Regions from separate parts of the Homo sapiens genome. Here region 2 is linked to region 1. Evidence: promoter capture Hi-C in human tissues and cell types (Jung and others, 2019). All regions are on one chromosome and are shown on one strand. Each heading gives the region's core, a stretch centred on a gene start or on the middle of the fragment in contact. The rest is flanking DNA. Distances are from core to core; before and after follow the strand shown. Region 1 holds the start of UBN2 (ubinuclein 2). Region 2 holds the start of HIPK2 (homeodomain interacting protein kinase 2).

Region 1 (4,319 bases), core at 1,479-3,978:
TTAACCCAGAATTAATAAATAACCAAGGAAATATCACTGGTTATTAAGGAGCTTCGAAAGACTACCAAAGCACAAAAGGCTGCTGAAAACATGACAATCTAACTTTCTGGAGAAATCCTGATATGTTGAGCTCTTCAAGAGGATTTGAAGACTGCGTCGTAATCAAGAACGTACGGTGAAATTACTGCATGCAGCAGTGTAGAAAAATAGTCCTTTTTAAAAGAATTACAGAACCATAGCTTTATAAATCAGTGGGAAAGTGGCTTACAGAGGGAACTATCAGGTGTGTTTACACTGCATCTTATTCACTTTTTAAAACGGCACTAATGTATTGGCATTGCTATGTTTATATTTAGGCATTCCTTATTTATAGCTCTAATAGCTTTAATTTTCTGAGCAGTCTGTCAGATGTTTATATCTGCTGTGCCTGGGTGAAGTGTGGTGGAACCCATTAGTAATAAGGTGTGGTGGTTATAGGACTTGTTGACGTTCCCTTTATAAACTAATTTTGAATTGTTTATGCACAATAACTATGGATTTATGTTGTACTCTCACAGGATTTCAGCCACCATTTGTGAATTTTGATTTAGGTTCATTATATCAGAATCTTGTTTTTTAAATTAAGAACATGGAAAACATTTCTTGTAATCTACCCTTTAACAAAGAATATATAGTTTTCAAACAGTTTGTTGGGCAGTTAATAGGGTGAACCAGATCATTTTTATTGATTTAAATAATTAACTTGATTAAACTTGGTATTTTATGAAGAGAATAAATTATTACAGCTTAGTACTTCATTTACACAGAGAAATGATTGTCGGGTATGCAATTTATCATGATGTCAGACTAAGATTAAAGAAGAATTTATTACTATGCAGAACATGCATACGCATTATTACTATTCATGACTGCCTATATATCTGAACTAGGGTTTTCAATTTTGATCAGTTTAGAAGAAGAAAAAGATCAGGCACCACAGTGGATCAGATGTTCATGTACCACTGTCCTAATGAATTCTGGAGTGCAATAAACCTATGATCAGGCAAGAACTTCCATGGCATTAAATAAAATCTTTCCTAATTTGCTTCTATATGATGTTAACATTTTTTTCTACACTGTATTATAAAATATTTTATATTAAATTAACTCTGTTGCGTCTGTTGCTTTTACTTTATCCTAAGCAGTAGGTAAGTATTGTGAAACTTATATTTCACATATGCACATATGTGTTATGTATATATGGGTGTATATTCTAGGTTACAGTGTAAAATGTCTTACTGTGGGTTATGGATCAAAAAGTTGGAAAACTCAGTGGGTGAGAAGTTAGAAGATAATGTTGGATAAGTAACACACCTGTAGAAGGATTTGGCCCACAGACCACCAGTTTGCAGTCTCTGAGCTAAATTGTGGAGGATATTGAATATGAGTATACATACATAGAACTCAGTTTGTAGGTAAGTTGCAGCCAGAACAGAGAACGATATAATAAAAACTCTTTTAGAGACATTAATATGACCCCGTCTCAAGACTGGTGGGAACAGAGACTGAAGGCAGAAAGGTCATTTAAGTATCACTAAGGCAATCTAAAAATGAGACCCGAATTCAGAATCAGAAAAGGAGCAATAGGGAAGGAGATAATGTAGGTAAAACATGGCGCCGAGTAGAAAAGATAGGGTTTTAGAGCTGGGAGAGACCTTTGGAATCATAGATTTCATCACCATCTTCGTCCAAGTAGGGAAAGTAATAACAGGAGAGGAAAAAACGGAACCCTCTCAGAATTTGTCAATGACGTCACACTGACTTAATAAAAGAGCTTTCAATAGTTAATGCAATTAACAGAAGGCTTGGATTCCCTTCAGGATGTGAAGGGCGAGCCCTCAAATTTACTTTTTATTCAATGGATTAAAATGGCCAGTAATTCTTATCCTTTTAAACCCGACTTCCAATTAATTAATTACAAGTGAGCCTATGGGGCGTGCCCAATCAATTCCTTCCCCATCCTGAAATGGGTCCTTTAGCATTCTCATAAACAGTACGTTTCCTGAAATACCACTAAACCCTCTTAAGAAGTTTTCTATGATTTCAGCAGTTTAGGCCTTCTGAATGAGCCCAGAACTCCTCATCTGCTTGTTAATTTTCCAACTGCAAAGCGTTATTGAACATTTAATGACCCTGCCCCACGCAACGCCCACTGCGGCCGGGCGAGGGAAACCGGAGTAGGTCGAGGAAGGGGAGGCCTGCGCTTTCGGGAGGGAAGCCGCTGGGGCTAGTCTGGCTGAAGCTGGGCACTTCCTTTTTTCCCTCGATACTTAAGGCTACGGGGACACAGGGCGGGCAGGCACAACGGCTGGCGCGTCTCTCTACCCTTGCCCAGAGTCCGCCTTGAATAATCAGCTAACAACCCCAATTCCCTTGAACCCAGCACGGGAGACCCGGCGCCAATGGCTAGGTCGGTCTCAGTCCCATCCCGATGCTAGCCCCGGGAAGCTCCTGGAGCGCCTCTGGTTTCCGGGTGCGAATAGTAAACTGCTCGGGAAACCCCAGAACCCTCCCTTTGAGGAAGGGTGCAGACGGCGTCTCCGTTTCCACGGAAACAGGCCGAGCCATGTCGTCACTTCCGCCGACCTGTCTGGACTCCAGACTGTTGGGAGGAAAAGAGGAAAACTGAGCAACAGCCACGACAGTGGACGCGAGCGTCTCCTCTGTGCGCATGCGCCCGCTCAGCGGCCTGCTTCTATTTATGTGGGGGATCCAACATGGCGGCCGCGGCGACCCTGGCGATGGCGGTGAAGCCCATCAGAACGTAGTAGCGGGGAAGGGGACACGGTCCGCACTCACCGTGGCGCCGGCGGAGACGGCTGAGGGTGGTGGAGGGAAGAAAAGCGACAGAGAGCAAGAGGAAGGGCGGGCAGGCACGCAGCGCGCCGTAGAAGCGAGCGCCGGCTCGAGCAAAAGCGGAGGGCCAGAACAGTGGGGATGGCGGAGCCGCGCAGAGTAGCGTTCATTAGCTTGTCACCGGTGCGGCGGCGCGAGGCCGAGTACCCGGGGCCCGAGCGTGAGCCCGAGTACCCCCGCGAGCCCCCCCGGCTGGAGCCGCAGCCGTACCGCGAGCCGGCCCGGGCGGAGCCGCCGGCCCCGCGGGAGCCTGCCCCCCGCTCGGACGCGCAGCCCCCGTCGCGGGAGAAGCCGCTCCCCCAGCGCGAGGTCAGCCGCGCCGAGCCGCCCATGTCGCTGCAGCGGGAGCCCCCGCGGCCCGAGCCGCCGCCGCCGTTCCCGCCGCTGCCCTTGCAGCCGCCCCCGCCGCGGGAGTCGGCTTCCCGGGCTGAGCAGCCGCCGCGGCCGCCGAGGGAGACGGTGCGCCTGGAGCTGGTGCTTAAGGACCCCACCGACGAGAGCTGCGTGGAGTTCAGTTACCCGGAGCTGCTGCTGTGCGGAGAACAACGGGTACAGAAGATTCTTCCCTCCTGCCCCAGACCCCGGGAGCCTCAGGACCCGCCGCCTTCCCCAGCTGGTTTGCACCTTGGGACGCCCACCGAGCGCGTCCGGGTCGCCCCGAGGGTGGGGTGCGGGGGGCCGGGGCCGAGCGGGTGGACGGGGCGGTGAGCGCTGCTTTCTCCACTCCCCAGGGTGGCCGAGGCTCTCACCCGGCTGCGCCGAATCCCCAAACCCCCGGCACTCGCTCCCAACGCCGCGCCGAGCTCGTTTTCTTGTGCACCTTTCGGAACCTCAGATTTTCCTTCTTTCCTTTCTGCTCCCCACACAAAATCCTGGGGCCCTGCAGGCCGTGTGGCTGGGTTCTCCCTGTGGCGCTACAGCTGTCGTTCCAGTAGAAAGGAAGAGAAAACCTTGGGGGACACGCCCCCCAGTCTGAAGCAGAGATTGTGTAACCCCTCTCGTATCATCCTCATCCTCATCACTGTTTGTTTTGCTGGGCGCCGTGGCTGCTGAGGTGTGCTTGCGTGCCTGTGATATTTTTCTTAATCGAAGGGAATTTAAGAATAATTAAAGGTTTTCAGAGACTAAGGATCCCACTTTAGGAATGGAGAAGTGGGTTAGTTAATCTGGTTACTAATTTTTCTCTCGTGTTGGTATTGGAAAACCTTTTTAGCTTTCCTTTTTTGTGGAGTTCGTTCATATTGTAATTGAATGGGAAGGTGTCTCCTGTTTTATTTGACACCTACCCGTCATATTATTTAAGTGTACTATCATTAGTTTATAGAAGGATATTGTATTCAGCCTTTGTAATTTTCGGAGGATGATGAAAAAAATGTCAGCTTTGAATTTTTTAAAATAATTGAAAATATATAGGTATGCTTTTG
Region 2 (4,220 bases), core at 1-2,500, 550 kb after region 1:
ACACATCGAAGTGTAAAAACTTAGTTGATTCTGGGTTGCTTTCTGGCTGGAAGCTGACAGAACGGACTGAAGAGAAACGAAAGACAGTGTGCGAGGCAGACCTACTGCTTTTCTGCCTTGCGTTCTTTTCTTTCTTGCTAAAGGCAGTCAAATGGGGAAAAATACCCCGATGCCAGGTGAAGGTGCACAACACAGATCGACCCAGACCGAGCCAGAAAAACGTCTCCGCCGCTCCCCCGGCTGGAAAACCCAAAGTCCACGTCCCCTTCCACACGCTAATGAGGGGAGATTTTCGCCTATTTCATTGTTCTGCCTGGCTCTGACATGGACTTTTCATCTCTCTCCTCTCTCCCCACCTAGCCCCGTGCATTCCGATTCCACAGCCCCCCCAAAATCGGAGGCTCGCGGAGAATAAAGGAGCGTGGGGTGGGCGCGGAAAGAAATGGGAAGGGGCGCGGGGCGGAGAGCGAAGTGGAAAGGAGGTGCTCCGAAAGGTAATGTGGGGGGGCGGTGGAAGCTAAGCCGCATCACCTTCATTTATCGCAAATAAATAAAAAGCACAGTCACCGGTCCGCCTTCCCCGGCGTCCCTGCCCTCCCCGGGCAGCCGCCCACCCTCGCACACGCCCCCTCCCCTCCTGCGCCCCCGGCCCCTCTCCCCGCCCTGGAAGCAAGACCCTGCCGGCGCCGGGTCCCGGTCATCTTCCGGGCGAGGGAGGGGGTCGCGGCCCCCTCGGGCCCCGGGTGGGGGCTGGGGCAGGCGCCGGGGGCTGCGGGCGCGGGGCCGCGGGCAGAACAAAGCTGCGGGGGCCGCGGAGGGCGGCGGGCGCGGGGTCGGCGGGGCCGGGCGCCCCTTACCTTCGTACACGGGGGCCATCGGGGCCGGGGTGTCCGCGGTTCATGGCAACGGGGACGGGAAAGCGGCGCGCGAGCTCGGCCCCCCCAGCCTCAGTCGGAATCTGCCATCTTGAGCCTGTGTCTCCGCTCTCGGCGCAGCCGAGGCCGCCCGCGCCCGCATCACCGCCTCCCGTGGCCGGCGCCGGGGGAGGGGGCCGGGCGCGCCGCCGCCGCCGCCGCCGCCGCTGCCGCCCGGGCCCGGCGCGGGGGGCTCGGGGCTCGGGGCTCGGGGCGGCCGGGCGGGCGGAGCGGCCGAGGCCGAGGCGCCGAGCGGCCGCGGCCCCCGAGCGGATCCGCGGAGGGGCGGGAGCCGGGGGCAGCGCGCGGCCAGGGCCGGCGGGGCTCAGCTCAGCATGGCTGGGCGCGGGGGCTCCGCAAAAGTTGCTGGCGGAGGGGGGCGGCGGGCGGGGGCGGGGGCGGGGCGCGGGGCCGGGAGAGCCACAGGGAGTCCGCGCGCAATCGAGCGCCGATGGCACGGATGCGAGGCGGGGAAGGCCGAACCGAAGGGCAGAGCCGCGCCGGCGGCCCGAGGGGACCGCGCTGGGAGGGGCTGCCGCGCAGCGCGGGGGGACTGGGCGCAGGGCGGGCCCCGGGTAGTGGGTGAGAGGGCCGGCCTGGACCCGGCGGGCGCACGGCTCCGAGCCCAGCGCAGCCGAGCCGGTCTGCAGAGGGGCCCCCAGAACTTTGTGTGTGTGTGTGCACGCGCGCGCGTGTGTGCCCAGGTGCGAGGGTTCGCGCGTGTGCTGGCGGGGAGGGAACCGACCCGAAAGAGAGCCCCACGCTGGCAAAGTGGCTCGCCCATCTCACAGCCGGTTGGCGCTCGCGGAGGTAGGAGTGGAATGAATGAATGAAGGAGTGGGCGCGCGCCGTGCTCCGGAGGAGGGCGGGTGAGTGGAGGAGCTTCGGAAAGCCACACGAGGTCAGAGGCACCGAAGCCCTGCCGTGCACGCCGCGGAAATGCAGCCCCCGGGGTGGTCGCTGGGTTCCTGCCGGAGTCTGGCTTCCACGCCACCCTGATCTTCTCCTCCTCGCGTCTACACTGTCCCGAGGGCCGCCACTCCATCACTTGAATGGGAGCTCACAACTCTCTGGGTCCTCGCTTTTCTCAGCGCTCTCTCCTATCAGGGCTTCCGCTAAACACTCTCCAGACTCTCCCCAGCCGGGAGCCTCTCCAGGTTTGCTTCTCCAGCTGCCTCCCGGATGCTTGGATAGGATGCCCTGCCATCCCCTCCAACTTAGGAAGACTTGTTGAGTCTCCTCTTAGGCACTGTTTTTAAAACTGTGGGTCGTGACACAGTAATAGATCATAAAATAAATGCAGCGGAAGGCAACCAGCTTTCAAAAAGAACGAAATGGAATCCAATAGAAAATATTAGAGTCCATTGCCCTTAGTAAGGGCAACTATTGTTTCATAAACCTTTTGTTTCGATTATAGGTACTGGACAAGTGTACTGGACCATGATGTCAATTTTATTTCCGTCTGTGAATCGTGGGTTTAAAAAAGTTGAAAAGCTATCTGTGTAAAATAATGATCTCTAACACTGTATAACTTTCTTAAAAACAACCTCGTGATTTTCTCACTACTTCTTATCCTTTCCGGTCTCCATCCTCCGTTCCCATCCTTCAGTCCTTCCCAAAAAAGGCAAGCTCTTTCACACTTTTTTAGTGGTACATCACGACACCTTCCTCTGTGTGATCTTGTACTCTGCGGTCTTCCTTGCCCCCATAATCAATGCTACACTTCCTATCCCTTCTCTTAACCTAATGCCATTCACGTTTGCAGAATCCTAGACTACTGTTGCTAAAAGGACCTCAGAGGTCATCTGGGCCAGCCCTGCCCTTTTAGAGTTGAAGAAATGGAGTCCAGAGAAGTAAAATCTGTTGCCCAATGTCACACAGTATTGAAGCTTAGGAATAGGTCTCGTGGCTCCCACTCTAGTGTTTTTTGCTCCACACCGGTCATTTATCTCCTTCCCTTCTATCCTCCCTGCAATCTTTAACTTTAGTCTTGGCCCAGGTCATCCTAAATATTGCCATCTTCATAATACGTGGTTCTGGCCATGCCACGCTCCTGGCTAACATCCTCTAAGGACTCAACCTCTGCAGGTGGGGCTGAGTGCCTTGGCTTTTCATCAAGGCAGGCGAGTCCTGACTTAGCTTTCTAAGGACATGAGTTCAGCAAGTCACTGCTTCTCTAGCCAAACTGGTTTACTTGTAGCCCAGTGCCAGCTTCACCCATCTCTGTCACTGTGCCTTTGCCCAAGCGGTCACTTTCCCACCCACTTTCCCAGAGGGGTACCTTCTCCATCTTCTCTCTTTAAGCAGATTCTACCTGTGCCTGGCTCACCTCCTCCACAAAACAGCCCGAGATAGCGTGGGAGTAAGTCAGACCTAGGTTCAAATCCTAGCTCTTCCACTTAACTATGTGATCTTGGTCAAAATGCTTAACCTCTCTGAGCCTCAGTGTCTGTATTTTGATTATGAGAAGGAGAACAATAGTAATGTTCTCCTTTTGCATCTGTAAATCTCTATCATAGCCTTCACCACACAGGTATGTAACTCCCTGTTAATACATACCCTACATGCATGTCTCTCTGCCCCTTTCTAGTGCTGGCCATTAGAACTTGCTGCCATAATGGCAGTGTAGCTACTTATGTCTGTGGAGCACATGAAATGTGGCTAGTATGACTGAGGAACTGAATTTTTAATTTTAATAACCATGGGTGGTTAGTGGCTACCATTTTGGACAAGGTGTCTCTAGACTGTAAGCTCAGTAAGGACAGAAACCATGTTTTTCTTGTTTTGGATTGTATGTCCAATAACTGCATTGCCTAACGCATGGTGAGTACTGCACACATATTTGTTGAATGGATGATAGCTGCAATTTGTTGCATGCTCCCTTGTGTCCAGCACAACACTACAAACTCGATAAAAGGCATTTCATATAGTCCTCATCACAGCCTCTGAGGCTGGGTTAGATTAGAGAGAGAGTTTTATATAGAGGGCAGACACATAGTAGGGGTTCAATAAAAGTTATTATTATTCTAACTCCTCCCTCTGACCAGCCCCACTGACTTTTGTCTCATCTTTCCTTAGGCTCACAGAACATTTCCTGCCTGTTGCTCACACTCTGTTGTCCACAGCATACCCGCACCCTAGATGGCTGACTCTTGTCTTCTGTGTAGGTACCCTGTGTTCATAACTGGATTGGCAGCGTCTTGGAGCAAGGCCCTGCTTTATAGGACTGCCCCTGAATTCAGCACTGACCAGTGTTCAGTAACTGCCTCTAAGTCCATCCCAGCTGCTGTCTAGCAGTGAGTGATT

The links. The method cuts DNA at HindIII sites, captures the fragments that hold promoters and counts their contacts. A contact is called where the count stands out against the background at its distance.
Region 2: a contact is called between the fragment with the promoter of HIPK2 here and the fragment with the promoter of UBN2 in region 1, in 2 of the 25 tissues and cell types used here (heart right ventricle and thymus).

What each region holds. Positions count from the first base shown.
Region 1 is chr7:139,228,509-139,232,827 of GRCh38, forward strand. UBN2 (ubinuclein 2) reads left to right here and starts at 2,729. Exons shown (of 18, transcript NM_173569.4): 1 at 2,729-3,444. The coding sequence starts at 2,977. It also overlaps the pseudogene MZT1P2. RefSeq lists enhancers at 2,510-2,669, 2,750-2,889 and silencers at 3,060-3,309, 3,520-3,739, 3,686-3,945. The HindIII fragment of the contact is 19,376 bases long and covers 1-4,319 here.
Region 2 is chr7:139,776,748-139,780,967 of GRCh38, forward strand. HIPK2 (homeodomain interacting protein kinase 2) reads right to left here and starts at 1,251. Exons shown (of 15, transcript NM_022740.5): 1 at 858-1,251. The coding sequence starts at 876. It also overlaps a transcript of TBXAS1 not described here. RefSeq lists silencers at 847-936, 1,367-1,596. The HindIII fragment of the contact is 11,506 bases long and covers 1-4,220 here.